Linked DNA regions of Homo sapiens: region 2 is linked to region 1. Evidence: promoter capture Hi-C in human tissues and cell types (Jung and others, 2019). All regions are on one chromosome and are shown on one strand. The core of a region is centred on a gene start or on the middle of the fragment in contact, and the rest is flanking DNA. Distances in the headings are between cores, read along the strand shown.

Region 1 (4,818 bases), core at 374-2,873:
ATAGTTGGTCACAGCCGGCACCAGGGAAAGGCAGTCTCCTAATAGAAAACACTTGAACTGTTGATCAGCAGCTTCCCGATAAGATCTTAGGAGTTGGGCAAGTGGGCTCAAGTATGCGCCTGTGGACAGCTCACTCTAAGGGAAGAATCAGGAGAGAAGTAATGCAAAGCCCCAAAAGCAAGACCCCAGAAGTATGCCAACGTATAAAACCCCAGGTCAAAAGGTCAAACTACGCACTAGATCTCTCAAGTCACTGGCTTGGCCCTCTTCCAAGTGTACTTCCTTTCATTCAAAGCTTTTTAATAAACTTCACTTCTGTTCTAATACTTGCCTTGGTCTCTCCTTTTGCCTTATGCCCCTCAGTCGAACTCTTTCTTCTGAGGAGTCAAGAATTGAGGTTGCTGCAGATCTGTAGGAATTCACTGCCTGTAACATACTTTGGGGCCGTGTCTCGGATATGGGCAGCTGCTAACATATTTTGGTGCCCTGTGACTCGAGTTAACTTCCACAGCTCACAAAGGCAGTAACATTTTCTAGGGAGTCACTAGAAGATATATGTAAAAAATCTCCTATATCTCCTAGTGGAAGATAGGGTTACTTCGTTAAGAATGTTTATTCAGGTCCACTGCAGCCTTCAATTCCAAGCCTTTGGTGATAAAGGCTATTTTCTCACCGTGGTAGGGAGAGGATGCCCATCCCAGAGAAATCTTTGTGGCCTGCTGCATCGAAGAGGCAGGTCAGCTTGCCCTTTCTGAAACTACCATTTCTCCAATGTTTTCCGCTCGAAATAATCAATATACCAATTAGGCATATTTTGGAATGGCACACCTTCACTCCTTCAACGTCTTGTCCTGGGTACTTACCGAGATGACCAAATTTGAGTAGGTGTACAGAGTCCTAAGTATATGGAGTTACTTCATTTGTCCCTCTGAAAGATTGCAAATCGGACTAGCAATTCCCAGGGGGAAAATTCTAAGCAGTCAAAAAAGGACTCACAACCCTATTGCCGAGGACTAAAAGTATCAGCCCAATACAAAACATAGAACTCAAATTAAAGGGGAAAAGACTATCATGAGAACAAACAGAAGAGGAATCGGGGCTCCCTTCCCGCTCTTTATTGCCCTTAACACACTGTCTACGCTCCTTGTGCTCTCTATCCCGTTTTTAAATGTCCCTACACTGGTAAAAGCTGTCGCCTCGCTTCATTTCACTACCGCTTCTCCCAGCGTTAGCAGCACCTCCAGGCTCACAGTGCACTTGGTAGGGAGGACAGGTATTTATCCACGCGGCCCAAAGCTGGGTTTCGGTCGCTGGATAACACCTATTATTGACCCTTTTGTAGAGATAGCGTTGCGTGTGTTTGTGTTGCGCGGACGCAGAAATCTGGGAAGGGCGCTGCACAGCGTTTTCCAGCGCTGGGGAGACGCCCCCGGCCCCTTAGTCGCACCTGCCTAGGTGTGCTCGCACGGTGGGACCAGGGTGGGCAACAGATTTCGCCCCGGGCAAGTTCGCACGCGGAGCTCCCAGCGCCGCGGGTCTCGGAGAAGACGCCTGCCTCCCCGCGCATTTCCGGTGACGTGCTGCCGCGCCGCCCAATCAGCGCCCGCAGCCCGCGGGCTTGGGATTCAAACTGCTGCTCCTCCGGCTGGCGGGGATCAGCGCTGGCGCGGCTGCGGCCGCTGCTGCCTACGCGCCATGGAGCATCGCATCGTGGGGCCCGGGCCGTACCGAGCTACCAGGCTGGTGAGTGAGTGTGCTGGGGCCTGGGCGGAGCACCCGGTGCCGCGAGCCCCCACTCAGCGCGCGGACAGAGTGCTTGTCAGTCTTCGCTTCCGCAGGCCAGCGGGGCTCGGGTGTGGAGCATTTCAGCTGGGACTACTGGGGCTGCCTTTTAGTGGACGAGCCTCAAAGAAAGGCTAACGGGGCCCAGAGCTCAGCCGGCCGGGGGTTAGTGCAGCTTTGTCCATGAGATGTTGACTGGGTTCTCGGCAGTAGATGGCGCCTCTCTGTTTAAAGACCCCAAGACCAGGCTGTTCCCTGCCTTTTGTCCTCTGGAATCTAACCGACCCGGTCGGTAACCTGAGGGGCCACCACGTACCCCGTAACGCTCAGCGTTCGCGGCAGTCCAGGCAGGGCGTGTCTCCTTCCTGAGTGACACCTGATGATACCTGACGGGGTATTCGAATAAACGGTGCCCAGAACAGAGGGGCATCGCGCTGGCCGCATTTCCGGCCCCTGGCGTTTCTGTTTCTGTCAGCACCGATCCAGATGAAGAGCTGGCCAGGACAGATGTTTTAGGAGAGTCTTTGCCGACTCTGAGTTCCTGTTTTTTTTTTTTTTTTTTTCTGGGAGAAAAGCTTTGGTATTGAGGTGTACTTGGTCTGCTTTGACTTGGAACAATAAAGGGTGACAGTTTGGTAATGTCTGTGGCAAGTTTTTAGAGGACTTTCTGTGGAAGTGTAATGGTAATTTGGGAGGACAGTAACTTGCTCCTTGGTCTGCCGACCTCTCTGGCCACATTTAACATGGGAATTACTCTCATAGTTCCATGCATTATAATGAATACACAGGAAAAGATGGGAACTAACATCCAAACTCTTACTCAGCTAGACTCATGGAAGAGGTGAGGATGCTGGGATACAGATAATGTAAATAGAGTTTCCTTTTCTTTCCAAAGCCAGCCACACACTATACCAGTAAGTCAAGCCAGAGCTGAGAAGGCCAGCTTCTGGAAGAGAAATCATAGTTGGGGCTGATGGGTCTTTACTTTTTAAATTTGGCTCATAGATCGCTTTGAGAATCTGATGAAGATTAAGGATCTTCTTCACAGAAAACTGCACATGGCACATACTCATGAAATTTTACATGATTTAAGGGGATGGATCGCTTGAGGTCAGGAGTTCGAGACCAGCCTGGCCAACACAGCAAAACCCCGTCTGTACTAAAAATACAAAAATTAGCTGGGCATGGTGGCATGCGCCTATAGTCTCAGCTACTCAGGAGGCTGAGGCAGGAGAATCTCTTGAACCTGGGAGGCAGAGGTTGCAGTGAGCTGAGATCGCGCCATTGCACTCCAGCCTGGGCAACGAGCGAAACTCCATCTCAAAAAAAAAAAAAAATAATAAGGAGATTGGGAGAGTCTGTGACATTGTTTTATTTGGCATAAAGACAAGCATTTTATTTGCTCATCCTTTGGATCAGTAATCTGGGCTAGACTCATGTCAATGGTTCTTTTGTGGAGGTCACTCATGTGCCACAAATAATGTGACTTGGCTATTACTGGATGATGGAAGATGGCTGCTTGACTTGGTCCTGGCTGTTACCTGGGCCAGATATCTCTAACAGGTTATCGGAGGCATCTTCACGTAGTGGTCTCATGGTTCCAACGTAGCTAAAAGGAAGTTTCAGCTTGTGACTTTTTCTTCAAATCTCATTGGTCAAAGCAAGTTAAACAGCTAAATCCAGATTCTAGAAATTCAACTCCACTTCTTGATGGGCAGGGTGGCAAAGCCACAGAGGTGCATGTGGAGAGGATGGGAAGAATCATTGCACTCATCTTTGCGAACACTCTATACAGTATAGACACCAGAATGATCTGGGGTCAAGAATATTGATAAGTCTAACTTTAGGGAGGAAAATAAGGCATTTGATCATTCCCTTCACCAATTTATTTACAGCACTTACACAAGGAAAACATAGCAAGGCTGTGGTTCTTGACGTGACTAGTCTTCATTCTTCCTGCATTAGACTAAAAAAAAAATACCTCATAATTGGAATTGTATTTTAGTCTCATATTCACAGAATTGTATGAGGTACTTCTTTTCATGGATGCAGAGGGTCCATATATAGATAGTGCTGGATTCTTGAGTCACATTAAAATATTATCAAAGGAATTTGTTTAATTAAAAAAAGGTGCTCTCTGCTCTCTAGAAGTCTTCAGTCCCTAACAAATAATATTCAGGCTAAATTTAGGTTGATTAAGTTAAGAAGATAAATGACATGGATAATTAATGAAACAAACACCTCAGTTTCACCAGAATTTCCCAGGTAATCAATTCAGTTCTCAACTTCATAGTGTTTGAGGAACATAATATTAAACTAAGATGTGGAAAACAGAAAACAATAGCCAATTTTTTTTTTCAAAAGTGAGTATTCCTGCTGTCAGTGATTGCAGCCAACATTGAAGATGCTTCTTTCCATTGTAAAGTCTGTAATTGTTTCCCCAGTGTAATTCAGCTGTGACTTAAAGCTTTTGCTAGGTAAATCATATATTTAATAGTTTGAGACTAGTCCTCTTTTTACTTGTTGGACCTAGTTGGCCTTTCCTCCCTCTATCTGCAGCATACAATTTCTCCCTTTTCCCATCATGCTCATTCTAAACTTTCTTCAGGGGAAGCTTGGTAAAAATCTATTGGGATACAAAAACTAGGCCTTTATTTTCTCCTTTCATGGCTCACTTTACTTTCTCAAAGCATGTACAGCTTTAGAAAAAGCTCTTTGGTGCTTTTTCTAAAGCACCAAAGTCTTATTTGAAAATAACATTTTGTGGATTAGGTAAAATGTTATGACAAAAGTCAAATGACAGCCCCAACTCATGATAAATGTGAAGCTAGTTATCCATTTATACATTTTCACTGAAATAACTTTCATCTTTGTAAACTTGGTATAAATAGTTCATTCAAGTAGAGAGAAAAATTTTTTTTCTAGAAACTGCTTAAATCTTTGAACTTATTCTGAGTTATATATATGGTCTGATGCAACTGATAAATTTTAAAAGACATACAGCTTTCATTGAATCTGAGAGTTAGAATGGCAAGA
Region 2 (5,170 bases), core at 1,859-4,358, 47 kb before region 1:
TGTTTGAAATTGTCCAGTTTTTAAAAAGCAATGTATGTATTATAATGTTCTGTATAGATGTTATTTAAGTTAGGAACCAAAATGACAGAATTGACATGATTTTCACTGGTAGTCAGTCAGTATTGAGGGTGCTTACTGCATCTAAGTGTCATGAGAAACTTTAAAATGTACTGGATGTGGTCCCTGCCCTTAAAAAATTTACAGTACAGTTTAAAAAGACAGGCCTACATCAAATTTTAATAAAAACAAAAGTGGCATACCTGTTGACAAGTGAAAAGTGTATTACAGATTTGCAATATATATTATCCTAAAATTAAGTAGTTACCTTTGATGAAACAAAATATAATGTTCACCAGGACCCACTGAAGATGTTTGATGGAGGAGTAACATGATCAGCCTGGTTATGAGAGCCTCTGGAAAAGAATCCCTTCCATGGAGCCCGAGGCTCCCTGTCACCAGCATTTTCCAGTATTTCCTTCTTGTAGGAAGCAGTTGGGTGTAATAGACTGTAGTTATTGTCTGTCATTCCAAAGCATCATGCCATGTAGCTAAGTACTCTGGGGAAGGGCAGGGATACAGAGAAAATCTGCATATACCATATACCACCAGGGAAGAAGATGTCTTTGTATGCCTTCTTGGGTACCAAATACAATAGAGTCTAGGTCTGTTTCCTTCTAAAGGACTTTCCCAGGAGTCCCACACAACAACTTCCACTTACATCTCAATGGTCAAAACTGCCTCATGGCCATTTCTGGCTGCAGGAGAAGCTGTGAACTAATTTTCTAGATGGGCACATTGTCATCTCCAACAAAATTAGATTCTATTAGTAAGAAAGAAGGTAAGATGACGTTTGAGTAAGCACCTGATGTAACCTCACCCACTGAGAATCCATCACCATGATGGGCCATTATTTTGCACAGAAGTACATATAATTCTTCAAGTGTCTAAATGGAAAAGTGATTGAACACTCTTATTTAGGGCCAGCACTGTGCCTGGCATCAGCAAATGATTAAATCATTACTTCTGGATGAATATATATACACATAAGTTATATATAATGTATTATATATAATAGATTCATTCAAAATGATTGATACACTAATATAATTTAAAATATATAGTCTATATATTATAATTCAGTGTATATATTTAGCATATATTTTTCCATCAGTATACTATTTGTATAGCCTTTGTTATCTTTATATAAATAGTATTGTTGTTTCTCAAGCTGTTACAGTTTGTCTATTATTGACTAACAAATCACCCCTAAATTTGATGACTTACAGCTACATCAAGGCTACATCTCTTACCACTTTGAAGGATCAATGATTTGAGAAGCCGAGTGGTTATTGTTTGGGGTCCCTGGCGCAATTGCAGTCAGACTGTGGCTTAACCAGGAACCAGGAGGTTGAGGCAGTGGGGGATGGCTGGAGATCTCTGTGTAGTCTCAAGTCCTCTCTGTGTGGTCTTTCCCCTTGGGCTACTTTGAGCTTCCTCACAGCATGGCAGTCTCAGGGAAGTCAGACCAAAGGCTTCAGGAGTAAGCATTCCAGTGAACAAAATGGAAGCAGTATTGCCTTTTATAACCTAGCCATAGAAGTCAGGGAATATCACTTCACCTGTACAAAAGCCCACCCATTTTCAAGAGGAGAGGACACAGACCATGTCCCTCAATGGGAAGAGTGTAAAAGCTACCTCGTAAGTACATGTAGGATGGGAGAAATATTGTACTTGGAAAATACAGTCTGCCACACAAAGTATTACCTAAAATAGACAGGAATACTTATTTTTCTCTTTAGAAGAGTTAAAGCCTATCTTTAATTCACACAGTTCTGGTTTGTATTGACTAGTTCTGTAGGTGAAAGTAAGTGCCGTTTTATTTTTTCACTAAGAAAGTGGCCCCTTGCACAGAGAAATAGACTCAGATTTGAGTGTGGAGTTTAAGGTAGGTCCCTAGATTAAATGAGAGCAAGGGTTATGGTTCTCTTTGTTTCAGGCAGCATAAGATACATGATGATTGGGGACGGGGTGGAGATAGAAATTCCTCCAGATGTTTCTAGCAGATACAACCACAATATAACAGGACACAAAACATGTCTTTTATACCAGGCTGCCCCAGAGAGAGGGCCAAAGGGCTCTTACTTTCCTGGCACTGGCTGGGCATGTTCATACTTTTTATTGACAGCCAGTATCAGGTCAGGCTGCACATGTACCTATAACTCAACAAAGTTACAAACTATAACACTCTTCAAATCTAAATATGAACATTTTTGCCTATATTCAAACTACAGCATTATTAAAACATTGCTGCACCTTGTTTGTATTCTAGGACCTACAGGATTCAATTAGTTTGGGATGTACTCTGGTTACTAAAGGGAGAAAGCTTGATATGAGGTAAGTATCTCTAAGTGCCCAGGCCACACAAAAGGACACTCTGTACATAGTCCTTACAACTTAAATAAGAATGATATAAGCATCTGAGTATTTGAATGTGGAGATGTAAACTCGGAGCTACTGTGTTCCTTTTATTTTTTTTATAAGAGATGGGTCTTCCTCTGTTGCCCCAGCTGGAGCACAGTGGCACCTTCATAGCTCACAGTAACCTCACACTACTGGGCTCAAGCAATCTTCCTGCCTCAGCTTCCGGAGTGGCAACATGCCTGGATAATTTTTTTTATCTTTTGTAGAGACGAGATCTTGTTATGTAGCCCAGGCTGGTCTTGAACGCCTAGCGTCAAACGATTCTCCCACTTCAGCCTCTCAAAGCACTGGGATTACGGACAGGAGCCCTCTTGTGCCTTCTATCTTAAAAGTTGCACAAATTCTGGTCAGTGTGTCTTTTGCCCATTTTGGGTTATCTTGCCCATGAAAGTATGCCTTTCTTTTTATTCTTGTGGCAACCCTCCTTGTTCAGACCCGAATAATTTTTCCTAGATTATAATATTATCCTAGATTATAATATAGTCTAGATTATATTATAATAATATTTGCCTAGATTATAATATTATTATATTATCCCTGTATAAAAAGCCTTTCATCCTACTAGATGCTGTCATGGAGAGGAAGCGTGGTGCACTGGTTGGGAGCACAGGCTCTGGAACCAGCCTGCCTGGTCAAATCCTGACTCTGTTTCTTGCTAGCGCTATAACCTGGACAGCTTCTCTGTCTCTTAGTGTCCCAACTGAAAATGGAAACAATACTTCTTTATCCAGTTATTGTGGGATATTAGATGAGTTAAAACAGGGAAAACTTTTAGAGCAGTGCTTTCCTTCCAGTTATTCAGGCTAAAAACCTCAGAGTCATCCTCAGGTCCTTTCTGTCTCACTCAACGCCAAATCCAACAAGAAATCCTGCTGGCTTCCTCTCAAAGTATAACCAGAATCTGACCAATCCTGGGCCCTTATCATCTCATGCCGGGATTCCTGGAATAGCTTCCTGTGTGACTCTCTGTTTCTGCCTTTGCTTCCCTAAAACTTCTTGTCCAAATAGCAGCCAAAGTCATCTCTTAATATAAATCAGATCATGTAACTCTTTTATTCCGAACCCTACAGTGGTTTCTGGTTTCACTGAGCGTAAAAACCCTGTCATTGCTTCTCTGTCCTCACCGCCTACCAATCCCCACTTTGTTCCCTCTGCTCCAGCCACACTGGCCTCCTTGCTGGTCACTGGACCATTGTAAGTGCATTTCCATCTTAGGGTTCTTCATTTATTTTTCTCTGCCTAAGGGACTGTTCCCAAAATAACTGCTTGGCTAAACCCTTCAATTCCCTCCTTTGTTCAAATCTCACTTTTTCAGTACTGCAGCCTGCACCCTCATCTTTCTTTTTCCTATACAGCACTTATTACCTTCTAACATGCTATACAATGCATTTAGTTACTATTAATGTTATTTATTGACTGTCTTCCTCATGAGAAAGTAATCTCTTCAAGGGTAGATGATTTTGTCTATTTTGTTCACTGCAAGTGCCTAGAACAATGGCTGGCATATTACGGGAGTTCAATAACTGTTGTTGAATGAATGAATGAATGAACGAAGCACTGAATAAGTATGTGCTATTGTTATAAATTCTCTTCCTCTGCTCACTCTTTAGTGGTTTAGTCAATCATTCAACAATTTGTTAAACTCCTACTATATGCCAACTGCTGTGCTAGAATATAAAAATGAAGTCAAATAATACCAATCCCCACAGAGATTTTCGCTTGGATAGAGGGCAACAAACATGCAAACAAGTCAAGTCAGATATTCTGCTGTTAAACAAATAGTTTTTGTTTGTTTGCTTGTTTGTTTGTTTTGAGACGGAGTATCGCTCTGTCATCCAGGCTGGAGTACAGAGGCGCAATCTCAGCTCACAGCAACCTCTGCCTTCCGGGTACAAGCAATTCTCCTGCCTTAGCCTCCTGAGTAGCTGGGATTATAGACACCTGCCATCATACCTGGCTAATTTTTGTATTTTTAGTAGAGACAGTAGAAACTGGACCTTTTCCTTATACCACATACGATGGACTAAAGACTAAAATGTATACCCCCAAACTATAAAAACCCTGAAGGACAACCTACGTAATACCATTCTGGACATGGGAACAGGCAAAGATTTCGTGACAAAGATGCCAAACGCAATTGCAACAAAAGCAAAAATTGACAAATGGGATATAATTAAAGAGCTTCTGTACAGCAAAAGAAACTATCAAGAACATAAATAGACAGTTTATAGAATGAGAGAAAATTTTTAGAAACTATGCATCTAACAAAGGTCTGATATCTAGCATCTATAAGGAACTTAAACAAATTTATAAGAAAAAAAACATTAAAAAGTGGGCAAAGGACATGAACACTTTTCAGAAGAAGACATACATGAAGCCAGAAAGCACATGAAAAAAAGCTCAACATCACTGATCATTAGAGAAATATAAATCAAAATCACAGTGAGATTTCATGTCACACCAGTCAGATGACTATTATTAAAAAGTCAAGAAATAAAACAGATGCTGGCAAGGTTGCAGAGAAAAAGAATGCTTATACACTGTTGGTGGGAGTGTAAATTAGTTCAACCACTGTAGAAAGCTATGTGGTGATTCCTCAAAGAGCTAAAAACAGAACTACCATTTGATCCAGCAATCCCTTTACAGGGTATATACTGAAAGAAATATAAATCATTCTATCATAAAGACA

Evidence for each region. Contacts are between HindIII fragments. The study calls those that stand out against the background at their distance.
Region 2: a fragment that was not itself captured here is called in contact with the fragment with the promoter of DEPDC1B in region 1 in 1 of the 25 tissues and cell types used here (H1 embryonic stem cells).

The regions. Positions count from the first base shown.
Region 1 is chr5:60,696,971-60,701,788 of GRCh38, reverse strand. It overlaps DEPDC1B (DEP domain containing 1B), which reads left to right and starts at 1,623. Exons shown (of 11, transcript NM_018369.3): 1 at 1,623-1,743. The coding sequence starts at 1,696. It overlaps LOC124900982 (a long non-coding RNA gene), which reads right to left and starts at 1,549. Exons shown (of 2, transcript XR_007058779.1): 1 at 1,448-1,549; 2 at 1-135. The HindIII fragment of the contact is 4,370 bases long and covers 1-3,303 here.
Region 2 is chr5:60,745,491-60,750,660 of GRCh38, reverse strand. No RefSeq gene overlaps it. Among named protein-coding and RNA genes, the nearest start is that of DEPDC1B, 48 kb to the right of the region's middle. The HindIII fragment of the contact is 7,640 bases long and covers 1-5,170 here.